Regions from separate parts of the Homo sapiens genome. Here region 2 is linked to region 1. Evidence: promoter capture Hi-C in human tissues and cell types (Jung and others, 2019). All regions are on one chromosome and are shown on one strand. The core of a region is centred on a gene start or on the middle of the fragment in contact, and the rest is flanking DNA. Distances in the headings are between cores, read along the strand shown.

Region 1 (4,305 bases), core at 431-2,930:
GGGAGGGGAGCACTGGTGAGACGTCCGCCTTGGCCCCTCCCTGTCTGGTTCCAGCTTGGCCCACCCACCACCGCTTTCCCACTCTCTGACCTGCTGAGCACTGCTGGGCTTTGAGGACTGAGCGCTCTCAGGCAGGAAGGGCGGGTCCCTCTCTTGGAAGTCCATGGAGAAGGGAGAGGCCACTCCCTGCTGGGGATGTAGAGCAGGGAGCAGGGTGGAAGGGGAAGGATGTCACCTGCTCCTGACGGGGTCCTTGAAGCAAGAGAAAGACCCCCTTAACGCAAACTCTGCTATCACCTTCCCCACCTCCAGCCCCTCCCACACCCTCTGAGATAAGGGCTCCCCAACATACCCTCTGCTCACCTGCCAAGCCTCTCCCAAGTCTGCCCCTCTGTCCCGACCCCACCCATTTTCACCTGATATGGACACTGCCCTGAGAGTGAACTAGCACACAGCAGACGGGCAGGTGCCCAGGGAAAACCACAAGACATATGCCCAGCCCCGCCTTGGGCACATACTCTGGGGCTCCAAGAAACATTCAGTGCTTTCTTTAGAGGCTTCCCTGGGAGTGCTCAGAGGTGAAGCAAGGGAGTGACAGAAGAGGCTCCAAGAAGAGACAGAGGGGTTCAGAGACTGGACAAGCGAGACCTCCTCAATCCAGCTGCCTCTGCCTTCAGGACCCCTCCACCCTGCCACCGTAGCTCAGAGACTTCTCTGCCATGATCTTGCAGAAAACTCCCCAGCCTCCCACCAATTAATCTCCATATTATCTAGTGCTTGGAGAAACTGAGGCCTGAGATAGCCCCCATTTTCCCATGTCTCCTCCCACCAAACATGCCCCTAGGATGCCCTTTTTGGACCCTCAGTACCCCCTAAAGCCTCACCATCCCCTGTCTACCCTCACAGTCCTTGGGGCTCTGAGAAGTGCCACCCACCCAGAGAGGGCAGGACATTGGGCTAAAGGAGATACTTCATGAGAGAAGAGGGGGCCCAGGACATGCCCAGGTCTGCACAGGTCCTGCAGCAGTGCCCACAGGCACCCTTGGCACTGGCCCTGGCCATCCTGGCTCCACCGGGAGATCAATAATGCATGAGGCTCTGCATGTGTGAGACGGGGGAGGGGACTGGAGGGGCGAGGCTGGTTTGAGGTGGGGGAAGCAGCCCAGATCTTCTAATGGAGCTAGCAAGCACCTGAGGAACTGAGGCCCAGAGGGGACAGGGATGTGGCAGGAACGGGTGCCCAGGAGGTTGGGGCAGAGGGACCCTTGCTGCAAGAGGCTGACCTGGGAGGAAACTCCTGCATTCAGCCATTGAAAGTTCTCAAACTCTTCCGGTGTTCAGGTATCTCTGGGCCCTTCTCCCGGCCCTGTGGGGATCCTGGCCCCTCACTGCTTGTGGGTAGAGGGGGAGGCTCTATCGGTAGGCAGGTGAAGGGTCTAGGTGAGCCAGGTGGGTGCCCCCTCTCCACCTCTATTCAGGAGCAGACCCACCAGCTTCAGGTGGGAGGAAGCTCTTCTCAGGAATGTCAGCTGCTGCCACGCAGCCCCCTTACCCCAGGGTCCATGGACGCCAGTACTCCTTGGCCCTTGCGCCGCTCTGCCTCTGAGTCACCGTCTCCGAGTCACCGGCTCCCTCCTCACCGCGCTGAGCAGTGGCAGCAGCTGCTGCAGGAACCAGGAAGGAAGGAGATGTCAGAGCCTCCCCTCTAGCCGGATCTCCCCACCTCCCTCTCCCCTGTCCCCTCCTCCCGCCAAGCTCCGGGCAGCCGCTCAGCTCTGCCCCCCTGCTCCCCGGAGGACTCAGGGCTGAGCAGACTGCCCTAGCATCGATGTGGCTTGGGAGTGGGGGCACAGTCCCTGCTGGGCATGGTTCCAGATAGATCAGAGGACTGGGGAACTGTTGGCTGTACGCCAGTGGTGATAAAGGATTTATTCAGACTAGCATGGCAGTGACCCTGTTAGTACCCAAGGCCAATTCCTAATTAACCCCCGCCCCCCGCCTCTCATTTTACATCTGAAAATAGACTGCAAAATTTGGAGCCAGCAAAAGTATCAGGTTGATGGTGGAGGGACAGATGCCCCCTCTGGGACCATAAGAGAGTGCCAAGAGCACAGTCAGCAGGGGCAGTCAAGCCAGGAAAGGGACAGCCAGCAGTCCCCACACTGAGGCCCTTCACTGGGGTGATGCCCCACTAGGTCAGGCCCCATGGAGATCTGAAAGTGCTTGTGTGTATGAAGACACCCCACAGCCTGCAGTCTCTGATCAGGAGCAGGCCTGGGGCAGTCACAGCTGCCGTTAAAAGGGCTGCAATGCTGGTCCCCTCCCTTCCCTTTACCCTTCTGCTGGAGTACTGTGCCCAGCTGCTCAATTCTAATGAAAAATCGGCTCTTAACAAAGATCTAAAATTCATTCAAATGAATGTGGCATAGACCTACAGTTTCAAGCGCAGCTAAGTTTTCTGGAAAGAAGTAGGTGGGGCCTCAGGTGAAGGATGTGATTCAAGTTTCTTCTCTGACCCCAAAAGTGACATGGGCCACTTATCCCTTCCACTTCATCCTCACCGAGCTTGGTTTACGTTTCAGGGTCTCACATATCTCTCGGGAACACCCACTGTCTTGCCTTTATTCAGAGCCTCAGTGCTGCTCCAGCCACCCCAGGAGGAGGGTGTTGTTAGCACCTGGCAGGGTTCTGGGAGGGACAGGAGCACTGGGCAGCACTGACCAGACAAGCTCTGGCATCCAGGAGCCTCAAGGGCCTTTTAAGCCACTTCCCAGTGATTGAACATCCCTGGGCATACAGCACAGGATGAGGCACTGGGGGAAGCTGGTCCTGGCCCAGGCCACAAAAGAGCTGCTGCAGGTCATCCCTGCCAGACAGTGCCTGTCCAAGACTAAGGAAGCGGTGGCATTGCTTCAAGTCCGAGAAGGAATGTTGAACAGCCACCTTCCCCGGGTCACCCCTGCATCCACCCAGAATGTGCTCCAGTCAAGGATGATGGTGGACTCTGAGTTAAGCATCCCGTCTCCTTTATTAGGAATTTCTGGTTCATGAAGACTTGCATGAGGCCTCCTACCCTAGAGCTCTCAGAATTCCCCATTAATAGAGAATCCTAGTTTTCCCGCAGGCCTTTTGTCCAGAACCACCAGAGACACGTTAGCTAGTGGGTACAGCTGTCAGCTGCCTTTAATAGGGCAAGCATGCGCGGGATGCCATTTGTGGGAACAGGTATAGGGGAAGAGGATTTTCCTAGGAAGGGAAGCAAGAGTGAGGAAAGTCAGATGACAGAGAAGCCCCTGAGAGTAAGTTTAGAGGGAGGACAACCGTGTAAACCACAAAATAAAGGAAGTAGAATATATTTCATTTTATTATAAAGCAGTGCTCCCAAACTTTTCACAGCGTACACCTCGAGGGTGGAGAACTAACATCCAAGCACACCTGGATGGTGGATGGGACCCACTTCTGGGTAACCTGATGAGGAAGCTCTAGTGAAGAAATTCAGGACGCGGTCTTCAGAGCAGAGGGCTTGGTTCAAGTCCCTGTTCTGCCACTTACTAACTGCATGACCTTGAGCAAGCCACTTAATTTCTCTGCTCCTTCTCTGTGAAATGGGTACAATGTGGTCAGCAGTAAAGGAACTAATACATGTACAGCACTCAGCACAAAGCCTGGCACACAGCAGGCTCTCACCAGGTGCCATTCTCAGCACAACTGCTTGGTTGAGCTACTGTGGCAGTGGCAGGTTGTGCCCCAAGGGGGTGGGCTCAGGAGCCCGTGCAGCAAGAGGCAGTGACCAAGGAGGCAGGGGACAATAGCCCTATCTTTTCAGGATCTCTGCCTTGGACCTGGAGAATGGAGAGACTTTGCTCCTATCACGTCCCAAGTTGGGAAAACTAAGGACGAAGCCGGTGACTGACATCTGAAATGGAATCCTCTGCATCTCCAAGTGGCCCTATACCTGACAATATCATTACTAGTGAAAACCAAGTGACAAACACACTCCCCGACCCCAAGTTCTTCCACATGTCCCATTGAGGAGAGCACAGCCAATAACGCAGAGTGTATTTATGCGCAGGGCTGGCTAAACAGGCTGGCTACGAGTCCGGAACAGTGTCAGGATCTGGCTTCCCATTGGCCGACATGACAGAATCCTTCTCGCGTTGCTCTCTGATGTACTGGTCCAACAGGGTGGTCAGCTGGAGGGGCTGGTGCTGGAGCAGGGAGTGGGTCTGGGCTGTGAGGCAGGTGAGGCCTCCTACAAGCTCCCCCTGCACCAGGGGCAGGCTGGGGAGCTTGGAGTAGTTGATA
Region 2 (4,172 bases), core at 478-2,977, 140 kb before region 1:
GCAGAACGCTTCATGTCCTGTTTTGAGTGTTCACATGATAGTTTATTCCAGACCCTCAAGGTGTCTGTATTACACCCCATTAAACTCTGATGTTGGTCAACAATTGCCTCTGTCTAGTGACCTCTACTGAGGGTTTTATTTATCTTTGAAATTTGCTAAGAAACCCATAGCACTGGTTTGGAAGGCTCAAAACATTATACTGGTATGGGGCTAGGAGCTCATTCTCAGCTGTGTTTGTTTTGCACAGGGACTTATGTACAGCATTTGGGAAGGATGTACTGAAATTAGTAGAAGCTAGGCCAATGATCCATGAATTGTTAACTGAAGGGCGGAGATCGAAGACTAACAAAGCAAAAACCCTTGCTACATGGGCAACAAAAGAACTGAGGAAACTGAAGAACCAAGCTTGGTAAGATCTTGCCTCCACTGTCCTCTTTCTTCTACTTCCTGGAGGAGGGGGGTATGTTTTCTTTAGGCCATTCTGGCAAGCACTGCCTTCTGGCATTTTTTTTGTTTGTACTTTTTCCCATGTAGGTGCTTCTGAGTCAGGCAGCCTCAGTTTTTCCTTGAGCCAAATGTTTGACTCCTCATAGTGATGGAGAGCAGAACTTTTAAAACTGGAATTCACTGAAATTCCCTGAGTATTTTGGGTCCTAATAAAATCATCAGTAATGCCATTTCCCCCTAATTCTCTTCTGTTTTCTATTCCTTTCCTCATGCCCTATTCTTTCTTTACAGCAGTGCTTTTAGACGTTGCCTAGCTCTAGAGAAGATTTCCAAAGTCAAATGTTTTTTTGTGTGTGTGTGTGTGTGTGTGTGTTTTCTTTTTGAGACAGAGTCTCACTGTCGCCCAGGCTGGAGTGCAATGGCACAATCTCGGTTCACTGCAACTGCTGCCTCCTGGGTTTGAGCAATTCTCCTGTCTCAGCCTCCCGAGTAGCTGGGATTACAGTCACATGCCACCACACCCGACTAATTTTCTTTTTTTCTTTTCTTTTCTTCTTCTTTTTTTTTTTTTTTTTCTTTTGGAGACAGTCTCGCTCTGTCGCCCAGGCTGGAGTGCAGTGGTGCGATCTCAGCTTATTGCAACCTCTGCCTCCCGGGTTCAAGCAGTTCTCTGCCTCAGCCTCCTGAGTAGCTAGGATTACAGGTGCCCTACCACCACCACACCTGGCTAATTTTTTTGTATTTTTAGTAGAAACAGGATTTCACCATCTTGGCCAGGCTGGTCTTGACCTCCTGACCTCGTGATCCACCCACCTCGGCCTCCCAAAGTACTGGGATTACAGGCGTAAGCTACCATGCCTGGCCCAGTTTTTGTATTTTTAGTAAAGATGGGGTTTCACCATGTTTGCCAGGCTGGTCTTGAACTCCTGATTTTAGGTGATCCACCCACCTCAGCCTCCTAAATTGCTGGAATTATAGGTTTTTTTTTTTTTTTTTTTTTTTTTGTATTTTTAGTAGAGATGGGTTTTCACCATGTTGGCCAGACTGGTCCTGACCTCAGGTGATCCACCTTTGTCGGTCTCCCAGGTGTGCACCACCACACCAGGCCTTGGCTCCTACTTTGAAATGCAATCTTGTTTGTTTGGAGACAGAGTCTCCTCTGTCACCCAGGCTGGAGTGCAGTGGTACAATCACACCTCATAGAAGCCTCCAGCTCCTGGGCTTAAGTGGCCCTCCTGCCTCAGCCTCCCAGGTGGTTGGGACTGCAGGCAAGCACCTCCATGACTGGCTAATTTTTTTTTATTTTTAGAGACAAGATCTCCTGTTGCCCAGGCTGGGTTTGAACTCCTGACCTCAAGAAGTTCTCCCTCCTTGGCCTCCCAAAGTGCTGAGATTAAAGGCTTGAGCCACTGCACCCAGACTGAAATACAGTTTTAATTTCTTTCACTCTTAATTAGTTATCTTACTCCACAGATCTCAGTAAAATTGGCTCTTTGAGTTTCCCTCGCACCCTCTGATGTAGGTGTTAATAAGAGCAGGTCAATGGCACATAGGACAAGAAGAAAGAGTGTCAATCCTTGAAATGTTGACAAATTCCATTCAGGCCTAGGAGCATGTAATTGTAGGAGTCAGCATTATTGGCTCTGTTGGGTATATGTGATCTCAAAGATTGACCTTTTTTTCCATCTGTTTTCAGATCTGTTACCATTGGGATGATAACCTGAGGACCCCCACTGGAAATCTCCCATCTTTTGAAAAACCTGGAAGTGAGGAGTGTGCACGGATGCTGAATGTTTGGGAATGAGAGGATGAGTGAGTGAGGCTTGAAAACACACCACATTGAAAATCCTGCCACAGCAGCAGCCGCAGCCGCCAACAGCAGCGCTGTTAGTGAGCTAAGTAAGCACTGACTTCGTAGAAAACCATAACATCGGCCATCTTGGAAAAGAGAAAAACAATGGAGTTACTTATTTAAAAAAAAAGAAAGAAAGTTATCTCTTCCCAGGAGAGGCTAGAAGTAGCTTTTCTGTCTTTTGGCCAGTGCCGAGTGGAATGCCTGGTTTGGGGGAGGAGGAGGGACTGGGTTCAGCTGTGGTGCTTTGTTGTAAAAGGCAGCCTGGCCTTTGCTACTGAGGAGAAAGATGGAGCCTGGGTCTCAAGCCCACCTTCGCTGTACCTTTGCCACATGGTACTGTATGCTTGCCAGCTAGAAGGAGGGTCAGGGATTTTTTACAGTCTGAGAATGAGTGTGTGTGAGTGAGGCGGTATCCACATTCTCAACTTCAAGTCATTGCAGTTTCTTTTTCCCAGAAAACAAGGGGTTAGATGTTGCATTTCATAAAACTAACCGAAGTTTTGTTTACTGATGCAGCACAAGAGATGTAAAAAAAAAAAAAAAAAAAAAAAAAAAAACACACACACAGAGGAAAGACGCTCTTTAGGTTTTGTTTTGTTTTTTTTTTTTGGTTTTGTTTTTTGTTTTTTTTACTCTAGGGAAAACACTGACGAATGGTCAGAGCTCCTATCCTGATCTTTTCATCAAGGCGCCTTTCCTAATAATATGGTTCAACTGTGAATGTAGAAGTGGGGGGGAGGGGGGAGAAAAAGAAAACTCTGGCGTTAGAGGATATAGAAAAATATAAGTACAATTGTTACAAATAACGCAGACTTCAAAAACAAAAAAATCACAACCCAAACAAACCAAAATTTAAATGATCAGAATTGGCAGCACAAAGAAAACGCCCTCTCCTGACTTGTATTGTGGCAGTCTGAACGCCCCCAGAAAATTGTGCCAAAGAGTTTAGAAAAATAAATATACAATAAAAGTAAACACATACACACAAAACAGCAAACTTCAGGTAACTATTTTGGATTGCAAACAGGATAAATTAAATGTTCAAACAATCTGATAAAATAACCATTTGGAAACTGCTTGGCCTTCTGTTCTTTTATTTGATTGACTACAATGCGGTATTGGTCTCTTGCTGCACTTCAAAAGCAACCAACAAAACAAAAACAAAAAAAAGTGTGTGTTGTGTGAATACACACACACACTAACTAGAAGTCTTGTGATGAAAATGGCACTTGGAAAAGGTTTTATTTTTCCACTGAAGTTGAAGGTTAATAAAATGGTGTCAAACGTCCCCTGGTCACACACTTGAATATTTTTTTAGAAGTGTGATGTGGTATGATTACCATAAATCAGACTTAATTATTTTCCCTTTTACAAGGGAACAGGGCATCCTGAATTTTAGAGCCTTTCAGCAATAAGAAGGGATGTTGGTGAGCTTTGATCCTCTTTTGGTTTTGCAGTTGTTAGGAGTTTTTGCTGGCATTTTGAATATGCTGCTTTCAGAAAAACCAAGGAAGTTTTAAAATTGCTTCCTGGTCCTTAGAGGACTAAAAACAAGACCCTCATTCCCACTTTCATTTCCACTCTAGCAAAAACTGGGCTTGCGTTTTTCTCCAACTCCTCGTTTATATCCTCCCTTCCATGTCCAAGCCTTCCATTCCTAAGTGGGATTGGCTCAGTTTTGCCCATCCATATGGCAGCATCTCTAATAGCTCTTGTACAGGGTATCAGATATTGTGCCTTTTGGTGCCAGGTTCAAAGTCAAGTGCCGATCTATGAACCAGTGTACAAAAAAAAAAAAATCCAGGTATTTGAAGGAGAGACGCTCCATTGTGAATAAAGAGCTCATACCAGCTCCTAAGCCCTATTAAGA

Evidence for each region. Contacts are between HindIII fragments. The study calls those that stand out against the background at their distance.
Region 2: a contact is called between a fragment that was not itself captured here and the fragment with the promoter of OSBPL7 in region 1, in 1 of the 25 tissues and cell types used here (spleen).

What each region holds. Positions count from the first base shown.
Region 1 is chr17:47,820,114-47,824,418 of GRCh38, forward strand. It overlaps OSBPL7 (oxysterol binding protein like 7), which reads right to left and starts at 1,681. Exons shown (of 23, transcript NM_145798.3): 1 at 1,553-1,681; 2 at 91-252. The coding sequence starts at 165. It overlaps MRPL10 (mitochondrial ribosomal protein L10), which reads right to left. Exons shown (of 5, transcript NM_145255.4): 5 at 3,159-4,305. The coding sequence ends at 4,092. RefSeq lists a silencer at 1,644-1,859 and an enhancer at 1,970-2,139. The HindIII fragment of the contact is 25,136 bases long and covers 1-4,305 here.
Region 2 is chr17:47,680,261-47,684,432 of GRCh38, forward strand. It overlaps KPNB1 (karyopherin subunit beta 1), which reads left to right. Exons shown (of 22, transcript NM_002265.6): 21 at 248-409; 22 at 2,144-4,172. The coding sequence ends at 2,144. Among named protein-coding and RNA genes, the nearest start is that of TBKBP1, 12 kb to the right of the region's middle. The HindIII fragment of the contact is 4,511 bases long and covers 1-3,983 here.